Regions from separate parts of the Homo sapiens genome. Here region 2 is linked to region 1. The links are contacts of gene promoters, found by promoter capture Hi-C in human tissues and cell types (Jung and others, 2019). All regions are on one chromosome and are shown on one strand. Each heading gives the region's core, a stretch centred on a gene start or on the middle of the fragment in contact. The rest is flanking DNA. Distances are from core to core; before and after follow the strand shown. Region 1 holds the start of UTP20 (UTP20 small subunit processome component). Region 2 overlaps ANO4 (anoctamin 4).

Region 1 (5,760 bases), core at 2,443-4,942:
AGGAAGAGCATTTGAGCCCAGGAGTTTGAGACTAGCCTAGGCAACAACACGAGATCCTATCTCTATTTTTCAAAAGTAAAAATATTAAAATTTTTTTGTTGTTGTTTTCATGTCCTTTAAGGCATTTTCATGTCCTTTAAGGCAGAAAGAAAATATGCAACACAGTTTAAAACTTAAATGCAGAACGCATTTCTAGCCTAGCACAGACCTGGCGTATGTCAGCTATGTGTGAGAGACCATGTCACGTCCTTTTGCAAGGTAACTCTGGAGCTCCTTTCACCAAGAGACGGAGTCTGTTTCCTCACCCTTTGAATCTGGCCTGGCCTCCTGACTTGCTTTGACTAATAACATGCGATGAAAGTGACTCTCATGACCAAAGCAAAACTTTATGAGGTCTTGACAGCTTCTGCCTTCACTCTATTGAAAAGATTCTGCCACCATGAAAAGAAGCCTAGTCTAGCTTATTGGGGAATAAGAGGCCATGAAAAGAACCAAGATCAACAAGCCACAGCCAACTGCCAGACACGTGACAGAGGCCATTCTGGACCATCCAGTCCAGGATTCTAATTTCAGGCTGTCTTCTCTGCCTTCTTAACACTGCCTCTTGATACCTTCAACCTCTCCTGTGGCTTAAATTATTAATCATATTCTAAATGCCAAATCTGTAATTTCACCTCTGAAGTCACCTATACTCCAGATCCATATATACAAACATCTTTTGGACACTATCATTTGGATGGCCAAAGGTATTTCAAATTCAAGCCCCAAATGGAACTAATTATCTTATCTTTACAACCTTGTGCTCCTTTACCTATAAATATATCTTGATGAGTAACATCCTCAACCATTCAGCCTTAACCTCATTATCTTCCTTGCTGCAAACCCAGTAGGTCACAAGTCCTATCCATTCATTCTACTTCCTCAACATCTCTGGAATCTTTCTCTTCTCTCTATCTTGATTGCTGCTACCATAATCATTTCTTACTTAGATAACAGTCAAATCCTCACAACTGGACAACTGAGATTGGATCTCCAAGTTAAAGGCATGTTACACAGGACCTTAAAAGGCTAGCAGAGGAATCATGACATGATGAAGAACTGCAGTCCTGCTCTTTTCTCCACACTAAAGCCAGAGAGATTGAAAATTTAAACCTGATCATGTCATTCATTCCCCTGCTTACAGTCCTAGAACTCTAAGTCCCTACAGCTTCAGGATAAAACCCCAACTTAGCTTCACATATGAAGTCCTTTATGATCCTTGCCTATTTCTCCAGCTTTATCTCACCAGTTGCCCCCTTGCCCCATCCCAGTCACCATGAATACAAAAAAAAAACACCCTATACACACCTATAACCACACTGGACTGCTTTGCAGTTTCTTGAATGTGACATGCATTCTCTAGCTTCTGTTCCTTTATATAGGCTTCTCCCTCAGCCTGGAACAGGCTTTCCTGTCCTCTTTACCATGCTAAAACCTATATAAACAAAATTCAGGTGTCACCTCGTCTAGATCACCGTTTTTTTGACACCCCTAAAGAATGTAGGTTAGGTTCCCTTTACTATGAGTTCTCAAAGCACAATGTGCTCACCTAGACGACATCATTTAACACATTGAATTTACACAGTGGAGATAATGCATTCAAAGACCCAGCGAGTGGAGTCTGATTATAGTAAAGAAGAATATTACGAACTGAGATTGGATCGCCAAGGTATAGGCATGTTACGTACGACCTTAAAATGCTAGGAGGAATAACGACATGATGCAGAAAAAGACTTCTGCATAAAAGGATGACAAGGCCGGGCGTGGTGGCTCACACCTGTAATCCCAGCACTTTCGGAGGCCAAGGCGAGCAGATCACGAGGTCAGGAGATTGAGACCATCCTGGCCAACATGTCAAAACCCCGTCTCTACTAAAAATGCAAAAATTAGCTGGGTGTGGTGGCACGTACCTGTAATCCCAGCTACTCGGGAGGCTGAGGCAGGAGAATCGCTTAAACCTGGGAGGTGGAGATTGCAGTGAGCCAAGATCACGCCACTGCACTCCAACCTGGAGACGGAGCGAGACTCCATCTCAAAAAAATGAATAAATAAATAAAAGTAAAATAAAGGGATGACAGAGTCAGAGTATGGTTAAAACTGGAAAATATTATGTAGTCTAGCCCCTTTATTTTTATAAAGGAGAAAATTAAGCCCCGGGAAAAGGGCTTCCTCAAAATCACTTTAAAGTTATAGCTTCAGGAATATGGATCTGCAGCAGTGCTTGGAATGCATAAGGGAAAGGGAGAGGCTAGAATCACAAAGACAGCTGAAAGTCAAGTCAATTGTCTAATAGAGCTTCACCCAACAGAACTTTCTGCAAAGATGAAAATGTTCCAATTCTATATTTATTCAATATGTTAGCAACTAGCCACATTTGGGCACCCAAATTTTTAATTTACTTTAAATCCAATTTGTCATATGTGGCTACTGTATGAAACAGCACAGGTCTAAAGCATTTCATGTCCAAAAAGGAATACCTTGAAAAACAATTCACTTCTACTAACAGAAGAAACTAAAACACCATGAACACTTGAAGATTGACTAGTATCACATTCTCTTACCTCCTCATAGCTTGCAGTTCTATCAATCCGGTGAATAATATCAATATTAACATTCCCCAGTCGTTCAGCAAATGTAAGAAACTGGAAGGGAAAGTATATTTAAGATACATAATTAATTAAAATTTATCAGATCTTTAATATCTATTTGAATGCTGCATGTAGGCATCTCTAATCACAAAGGATAAGTGGAAAAATAAACTGAAAAACATACGGCCGTAAACAAATTTACTGCATCACTGTTCAAAGATAATGAATACTTCTATGTTTGCATAATTTCTCTCAGCTATGTCATTTCAAATAAAATTTCCATTGCCAGACTGGTGAGCCTAGGTGGATGCTGGCAATTAGTCTCGCTAGATCTATTAGGTTTCATACCCTCCCATAAGCATGGGGACCTAGCAAAGTCGCTGCAATAAAAGTGTTTTTAAACATATACAGACCTATGATTGTATCCTAAGGAAGACCTGGAAACAATCTATCAAGGGGCAAACAGAGAAAGCGCTGTATATTTGCCCTTAGCTGGGAATCACTCACCGCCAGCCGACTCGCCCAATTCGGTCTTTAAAGATAAAAGAGCAGGGGAGAATTGGTCCTAAGCAATCTCCTGGAATAGTGAATTTAATTCTGGACTACAGGAAATTCCCAGGACTGGCCAGACCCCATAAAACATGGGTGAAACTTGCTGTCCACACTTCTTTCCTCCTCCAACCCATGTTTACTACATCCAGTGTCTCCCTCTTTCGCCGGAGCCTCCAGGAAAGTGACACACTCGGCCCAGAAGTCTGAGGCCCCTGGAGTCTCGCTCAGAGCCTGTCTCACGACTGAGGCAGCGGAGACCCGCGGCTCCCTGCCTAAGCTCCCGCGCTCACCCGGTAGGTGTTCTCGGTCTTGTGGGAAACGGGCTTTGTCTTCATGGCTGCAGAGGGCCAGTGGCCCGCGACGGCCTCGGGAGTGTCGAAGGGATGCAACCGACAGTAAGGAGGGGAAAGCGGCTCACAGGCTATACTCTCCGATTCCCAGATGCCCAGACTTTCTCACGTGCGGCTTGAGCCCCTGGGCGCCGCCATGTTGGAGACAAGGAGGAGCCTGAGTGGGTCACGTGGACGGAAAAAAGAACGGCGCAGGCGCACCCTTTGGTGGGGTGGGGCCTACAGGAGGCGGGGCTGCGCACATAAGGGCGGGCGTTTGGGTGAGGTGTTCTTTTCACTCCCTTCGGTAAAGGTTTAGAAGACAAATGTATTTTCATTATAAAATAAAACATACCTGTAATCGTTATCAACTAACATTACTGTCCCTCACTACGTACCTGCATCGTGCAAAGATCCTTTCATCCATAATTTCACAGTAAAGCTTATTAGGGATGTTAATACAAAGGAGGTACTGCGTCTATCTATATATCTATATATAGATATATACTTTTTTTTTTTTTTTTTTGAGACGGAGTCTCACTCTGTCTCCCAGGCTGGAGGGCAGTGGCGCGATCTCGGCTCACTACAATCTCCGCCTCCCGGGTTCAAGCAGTTCTCCTGCCTCAGCGTCCAAAGTAGCTGGGACTACAGGCACCCGCCGCCACGCCCGGCTAATTCTTTTGTATTTTAGTAGAGACGGGGTTTCACCTTGTTGCCCAGGCTGGTCGCGAACTCCTGAGCTCAGGCAATCCGCCCGCCTCGGTTTTCCAAAGTGCTGGGATTACAGGTGTGAGCCACCGCGCCTGGCCGGTACTGTGTATATTTTTAAGCCAATTTGACACAAGAGGAAACCAAGGTTGTGCAGCTGGTAACTGGCAGTCTTCACTCAGACTCTAAATTTTGGTATTCTTAACCACTACGCTGTAAATAAAATTGAAAAATAGAGAAGGAGTTTTAAGAAAAATCTTTTAATTTCATGCACAACCGCTGTTAATGTTTGGTGTTTTTCCCATCACTTTAATGTCTACACATAGCATGTTGTTAAATTGTACAGTTATATATACATATATGTACAATTTTAAAAAATAATTTAAAAATATAATTATTTACCCCATTTTACATTCATTCATTCATTCAGCAACTATTTCTTGAGAGTCCTCTGTGGACCAGGTACTGTTCTGGGAGCCAAACGAGAAAGGCAATAATAGTATTAATTAATTATTTGAAAATATTCACAGCCTTCAATTCCTGGGCTAAAGTGAGCCTCCCACCTCAGCCTCCCAAGTAGCTAGGGCTACAGGCATGCACCACCACACCCAGCTCTTTTATTATTATTATTATTATTATTATTATTATTATTATTATTTGTAGAGATGGGATCTTGCTATATTGCCCAGGCTGGTATCAAACTTCTGGACTCAAGCAGTCCTCTTGGCTTGGCCTCCCAAAGTGCTGGGATTACAGGGGTGAGCCACCATGCCCAGACTGGAAATACTTGGTCTGAGATGCTTACATTTTAGTCAAGGAGTGATGTTAAGTAGACAATTGGATATATTGTTGTACAGAGCTCACTGTAGCAGTCTGGGCTGCAGACGTGACTTAAATACACCTAAATACCTCAAGTGTGAGGCATTTGCGACTGGGAAAGAGAGCCAGTAAGGTAGAAACAGACTAGTTATGGCATGGAAGCAGAGCTGGTGGCCAACTATACTGCAAATTCGAGGATAGAGAAGTGGTTGCTGGATCTGACAAGGTGAAGGTCACTGGTGACCTTGCTAAGTACAGTCTAGTTGGAAGAAAGGAAGTGAAATATGCATGGATTGAGGAGGTAATCAGAGTTGAGAAAGTGAACATAACACTTTCAAATTGTTATTGGCATTATCACATCAACATTTTCTGTGTCACCACAGGGTTGTTCTAAATATTTTAATGCCTCCATAGCATTTATAGATTTTTTTATAATAAAATATTGACGTGCCTAATGTTCCATTGGCTTTCAGTAGGCTAATAATTGGTCTTTTTTTTTTAAAAGCCTTTTATGGGTCACAGGGAAATCTAAGAAAGCTGTAGAACTTCTCCCAGAAAGATGCAAAGAAGCTCATCCACACTAAAATGTGCACGTTTCAGAGAGTTAGAAGCCTGCAGTTAACTGAGGGTAGAAGCCCCCACTCAAAGCAATATTTTCCCAACCTGTTGCCAAAATCACCCCCACATCATTGTGCCATTTTCCTTCTCTGCAATTTATTTTTGGT
Region 2 (5,760 bases), core at 836-3,335, 260 kb after region 1:
TTGGCTATTCTAGGTCCTTTCATTTCCCTATGAATTTTTGAATTCATTTGTCAATTTTCACATATACACACACAAAACACCTTCTGGGAATTTGACTGGATTGTGCTGAATCTATAGATCAATTTGTTAAGACTGACCTCTTAACAATATTGAGTCTTCTGACTCATAAACATAGTATATGTCTCCATTTATTGGGTCTTCTTAAATTTATCTCAGCAATGTTTTGTAGTTTTCAGTGTACAATTCTTAAGTATCTTTTGTTTGATTTATCCTTAAGTATTTAATATTTCATATTTGGGGGCTAATTATAAGTGATTTGGTTTTTAAAATCTCAGTTTCTCACTGTTTGTTGCAGATTGAGAGAAATACAATTGAGTTTTTATATCAATCTCATTTTTTGCAACCTAGCTACATTCACCTATTAGTCCCTTTTAATGGATTCCATTGTGAGTTTCTTTATAGGTGATCATGTCATCTGATAATTAGGACAGTTTTAATTCTTTTTATTTTATTGCACTGGATAGTAAAATGAATACAAGTGGCAAGTGCAGACATACTTGTCCCGTTCATTATCTTGGGAGGAAAATATTCAGTCTTTTATCATTAAGCATAATTTTAACTATAAGCATTTCATAGATGTATTTTATGAGGTTGAGGAAGATAATTTCTATTAGTAGTTTGCTGAGTTTTTATCTGTAATGGATGTTGAACTTTGTGAAATGCTTTTCCCATGTTCATAAATATGAACATATGGTTTTTCTTTTTTAGTTTGCTACTATGGTGAATTATATTGATTGATTTTCATATACTAAGCCAACCTTGCAGTCCAGGATAAATTCTACTTGGTCATGATGTATTACCCTTGTTATACATTGTTAAACTTTATTTGCTAAATTTTCTTTATGTTTGCAGGAGGAAAGACTTTTCTGAGTATTCTCCTCACTGCTCTGTGAATTATGAGGTGTTCCAGTCTTACTGGAAATTCTTTTGGATGGTTCTTTCTCTGGCCTTGGGTATTCTCCGGACATGTATGCACTGATCAGCACTTGCTGAATACTTGAGGGAGACCCTCTACAGATCTTCAAGGTTCTAGCCCTGTGCAGTTCTCTGCTTTCTGGTACTTCCTTCTGTGAACTCTCGCTGCCTTCCGGTACTTCTTTCTGTGAACTCTCGCTGCCTTTGTTTCCCAACTCCTAGCAACAACTTCTCAACTTAGAGAGTCTTTCAGGTCCTGCCTACATTCTCACTTTTCATGGTGCTGTCTAGAAACTATGTCAAGGTGGTAAGATAGGGCCCAGCAGGGCTCATTTCATTTGTTTTCTGTCTCTCAGAGATCCTTGTTTTGGGTTGCCCAATATTCAGTGTCTTGAAAATAGTTGTTTCATACATTTTGTCTGTTTTTTCTTTTGTGATTGTTTCAGGTGGGAGAGTAAATCTTGTGCCTGTTGCTCCATCTTGGCCAGAAGTGGAAGTTTAACATGTTGATCTTTAAAGCTCCTTTCAGATCAAGATTTCTGCTACTTCCTAAAATACACCTCAAAGGAGATTATCATAATTTCTCAAGTGGCTTGAGAGGAATGCTACCTATGCTTTAGATCCTTACCAGAATCTAGAGGTTTAGCCTAACTGGAAAATGGCACATGCACTGATTCACTTTTCATTGATGGAGGATCAATCAATATTTAGATGCTTTTAATCATAGTAACACATTAATATGTTTTAAGATGCTTCACATTAATACTAAATATCTAAGAAAAACATTTGAAATCCAAATATCACAAGGCTTTATAGTTTGTCTAGCGCACCAGAGGCCCTCAATAAATACCTTTGTAATGAATTACTATGTAGAAAGCTTTGATTCCCTGGAGTCTCTATTGGGAATTCTACATATCTCATCAATAACTTTCAAACATCCCAGATGTTAGAAAAAATAGGATTCATAAGGACCTAATAAGAGACTCACATGATAACTTTTTTTTTTTTTGAGACAGAGTCTCACTCTGTTGCCCAGGCTGGAATGCAGTGGTGCGATCTCGGCTCACTGCAACCTCTGCCTCCCGGGTTCAAGCAATTCTCGTGCCTCAGCTTCCCAAGTAGCTGGGATTACAGGTGAGTGCCACCATGCTCAGCTAATTTTTGTATTTTTAGTAGAGATGGAGTTTTACCACGTTGGTCAGGCTGATCTCGAACTCCTGACCTCAACTGATCCACCTGCCTTGGCCTCCCAAAGTGCTGGGATTATAGGCATGAGCCACCGTGCCTGGCCTCAGATGATAACTTTTATAAGTTTATCATAATTTATCAAAGTCCTGCAAAGTGAGAAAGTAGCCAATATTTGAAATCTTTTTCACTTTACTAATTTCTCCTCTAAGCACCAAATTCAAAAATACAAATCAATTTCAAGATTTATTGTATGCACCCACATTGTTAAATAAATCTTTGTTGAGCTATTAAATGGCTCTATTTTGAAAGTGGGTTTCACCAGGTTTGATTTTTACAGTTGAAATAAATTCAGAGTGAAGTTGAAAAATGTACATAGTGGCAGTTTACATTCCACTAAAATATCCTTATGAATCATGTCTACAAATCAGTATTTTCATGTTATTTCTAATCGATGTTGGCTCATGCAAGATGCCACTTTCAGAAAGAGTTTCAGGCAGAAAATAATACTGGATAAACATTAGTTCTATCAAGAAATTAAAATTTCTTCTAACATATTATTTCTTTTATTTACAAAACCAAAGATGATAATGAAATATTGAATCTACAGGCCATTAGTAGTTTTGCTCCATGTTTTTCAGCATAATGCTTGGTTGTGGCTTAATAATTTACTATCTGATTGGTTATTTCTAATTAGATATGATTCCAGTTCATCATTACCAATTTTCTTTTATTATTTTCTTTTTCTTTGTTGTGACAGACTCCTGTTCTGTTGCCCAGGCTGGAGAGCAGTGGCACAATCTCAGCTCACTGCCGCCTTGACCTCCCAGAAGTAATCCTCCCATCTCAGCCTCCTGATGGCTGGGACTATAGGTACTGACCACCACGCCTGGGTAACTTTTTGTATTTTTTGTAGAGATGGGGTTTCACCATTATGCTCAGGCTGGTTTCAGACTCTTGGGCTCAAGCAATCCTCCTGCCTCAGCCTCCCAAAGTTCTGGGATTCCAGGCATGAGCCAATGTGCCTGGCCTATTACCAATTTTCAACACATGGAGGTCTTTGAATAGAAAACTCCTTATTTCATCAAATGAAAGAAACTTTTATAAAGACCCTTTCTGACTAGCAACAATACTACACTTCCTGTGCTTCTTCAGAACATTTAAAAATCACTGTCTCTGTCCTTCTTTTGCTTATAAAAGCATCCCACATTTTGAGACGCAAAATTAGGCACAATAATTTAAAAGCTTTTCAGTTCAGCACGCCTTTATTGAACTCCTACTATATGCCAGGCACTGTGCTAGGCAGTGATGATATAAAGATAAATAAGGCAGTTTATTTACAGTTAAGGATCTTATTATCCAGATGAGCAGCATTCAGCTGCAGATTCTTAATACACTAGTGTCTCATAAAGAGTCGTTTTGAGAGGCCGAGGCAGGCGGATCACAAGATCAGGAGTTTGAGATCAGCCTGGCCAACATAGTGAAACCCCGTCTCCACTAAAAATACAAAAAATTAGCCGGGCATGGTGGCGGGCACCTGTAATCCCAGTTACTCAGGAGGCTGAGGCAGGAGAATCACTTGAACCTGGGAGGCAGAGATTGCAGTGAGCTGAGATCTTGCCATTGCACTCCAGCCTGGGTGACAGTCCGAGACTCCGTCTCAACAAAAAAAAAAGAGTCATAAGTTGTACTGCAAATGATAATACCATTATTAGTGAAGATGCCATTTGGAGTTATTTGCATTTTATGAAGTGATTCAGAACAGCTACTGCAATAATAACTTCACTTTCACTCACTTGCTTTCTAGTATGTTTATGGTACAATGTTAACTGAAAAAAGTTCGTAAAAAGGATGCATAGCACATCCTAAGTTTGTTTCTAAAAACCATATGAATGAATAAGAAATTAAGATATAAAAGTAACTAAGGTAACATTTAAATTATTCAGTACGCAAATGTTATGAGTGGTTCTCTTTATGTGGTAGATTTTCATAATGTTATTGAATGTAGTTCAAGACAACAAAAGAAGAGTTGTATATGACTAACTATCAAATAGACTCCAAAAATAGTTGCCATAGGAATTCAGAAGAGAGAAGAATTCATTCAAGCTGGAATGGTCACAGAGGACTTTATTGAAGGAATGTGTTTCAAGGAAGGATGACTAATGCAGAGAAATGGGAATGTGTTTAACTAAAATCCATCAAAGTTAAGAAAGACCTAAATCAGGTTTGACTTCACCATACCCCCATACATTGACTCTCACAAAACATAATATTCCAGTTGTAATCAGATCTGGACTAGAAAGCTATCTATTTCTCCATGTTATATTTTAATTTATGCAGCTTGGGATCAAAGTAGGTGTTTTTTTTTTTTTTTTTTTGGCAGAGTCATTATGCTAGTGACTCACACCAAGCTTGCATTCAGCTCAACTCTCAAATCTGTTCCTCTTATGATGTTGAGCAACATTTCTCCCACACTGTACCAAGGTAGTTGTTTTGCTGAATTTGACTGTAAGACTTTACCTTAAAAATTATTTTTTTAATTTTTTACAGTGATATTAATGTAAAATTTTATGTACTTCCTTTTCTATTCGAACAAATGTAAATGAATAAAATAAGCATTTGAAAAATCTCAAATCTCATTAATAACCAAATGTATGTTTAAATAACATTTTCACTGAATTAGTAAATATTTTTTAAAAGACTGAAAGGAAAAGAAAATACACATTAGAAATGGTCAACGCAAAATTATTAAATGTCATCTTGCTGGATTTGGCTGAGTGCCAGCTACTGAGTCTTGTCATTTAATGCAACCTTCTAGTTTCACCCTACCCGAAAGCTTGATGAGCAGGTCATCTGGGCTATGCACCAGATATTAACTTATTTCCCCTCAGCTCCAAATGCACCTTCATTGCCTGCTTTGCAATAATGTAACTATTGTAACTATTTCTCCTTTGTCAGCTGATTCAATGTTAAGCTTTGCCAGCAGAAGACACTGGGAGGGACACTGGAGGAGGAAGGGGTTTCTCTTCCTGATACCAGTATGATATCTCAGCAGGCTTCTGTAGCACATACTTCTACAGTACCCAGCTCCTGCAGTGCGTGGTGGCTGGAAACACATGGTACTCCTCAAAGGCAGATTTTCAGTATCCCCTTGGGGGGCTTCACAGAGTAGTGCTGCTGATGTAGCAACTCCCAAAGAATGACTTCCTTGGAGCCACTCGAGGCAGCTTCCCCCAGTACTCCAGAGGGCAGATTTCTAGAGCCCCCAGCAAACTGCACTGCCATGGCTGTACCTCTTCCAGCAGGATCTGCAGCTTAGCATTGTAGCGAGGAGTCTTCTCAGAGGTGGTAGCTGCTCCTAACATCTGCTATTCCTGTATTCTTTAGAGTTATTCTTACCCTTGACTAGCCAACCCTCCATTACTCCAATCCCCTGTCACAGTTAATTATTTATATAAAACTTTCTCTGTTCAATTTACTTGTGCCTTTGTCTCCTGATTAGACCCTGACTGATATAGGTCATTATTAAAACTATTGATAAAAAACTTGCTGGAAAAAGAGATAAGAACAAAGCCACCCAACCCTTCCTGATATATAATA

The links. Contacts are between HindIII fragments. The study calls those that stand out against the background at their distance.
Region 2: a contact is called between a fragment that was not itself captured here and the fragment with the promoter of UTP20 in region 1, in 2 of the 25 tissues and cell types used here (hippocampus and mesenchymal stem cells).

What each region holds. Positions count from the first base shown.
Region 1 is chr12:101,278,037-101,283,796 of GRCh38, reverse strand. UTP20 (UTP20 small subunit processome component) reads right to left here and starts at 3,692. Exons shown (of 62, transcript NM_014503.3): 1 at 3,470-3,692; 2 at 2,601-2,681. The coding sequence starts at 3,514. RefSeq lists enhancers at 3,619-3,668, 3,402-3,993. The HindIII fragment of the contact is 9,089 bases long and covers 1-5,178 here.
Region 2 is chr12:101,020,820-101,026,579 of GRCh38, reverse strand. All of the region lies in intron 9 of ANO4 (anoctamin 4), which reads right to left. Among named protein-coding and RNA genes, the nearest start is that of SLC5A8, 190 kb to the left of the region's middle. The HindIII fragment of the contact is 6,963 bases long and covers 1-5,566 here.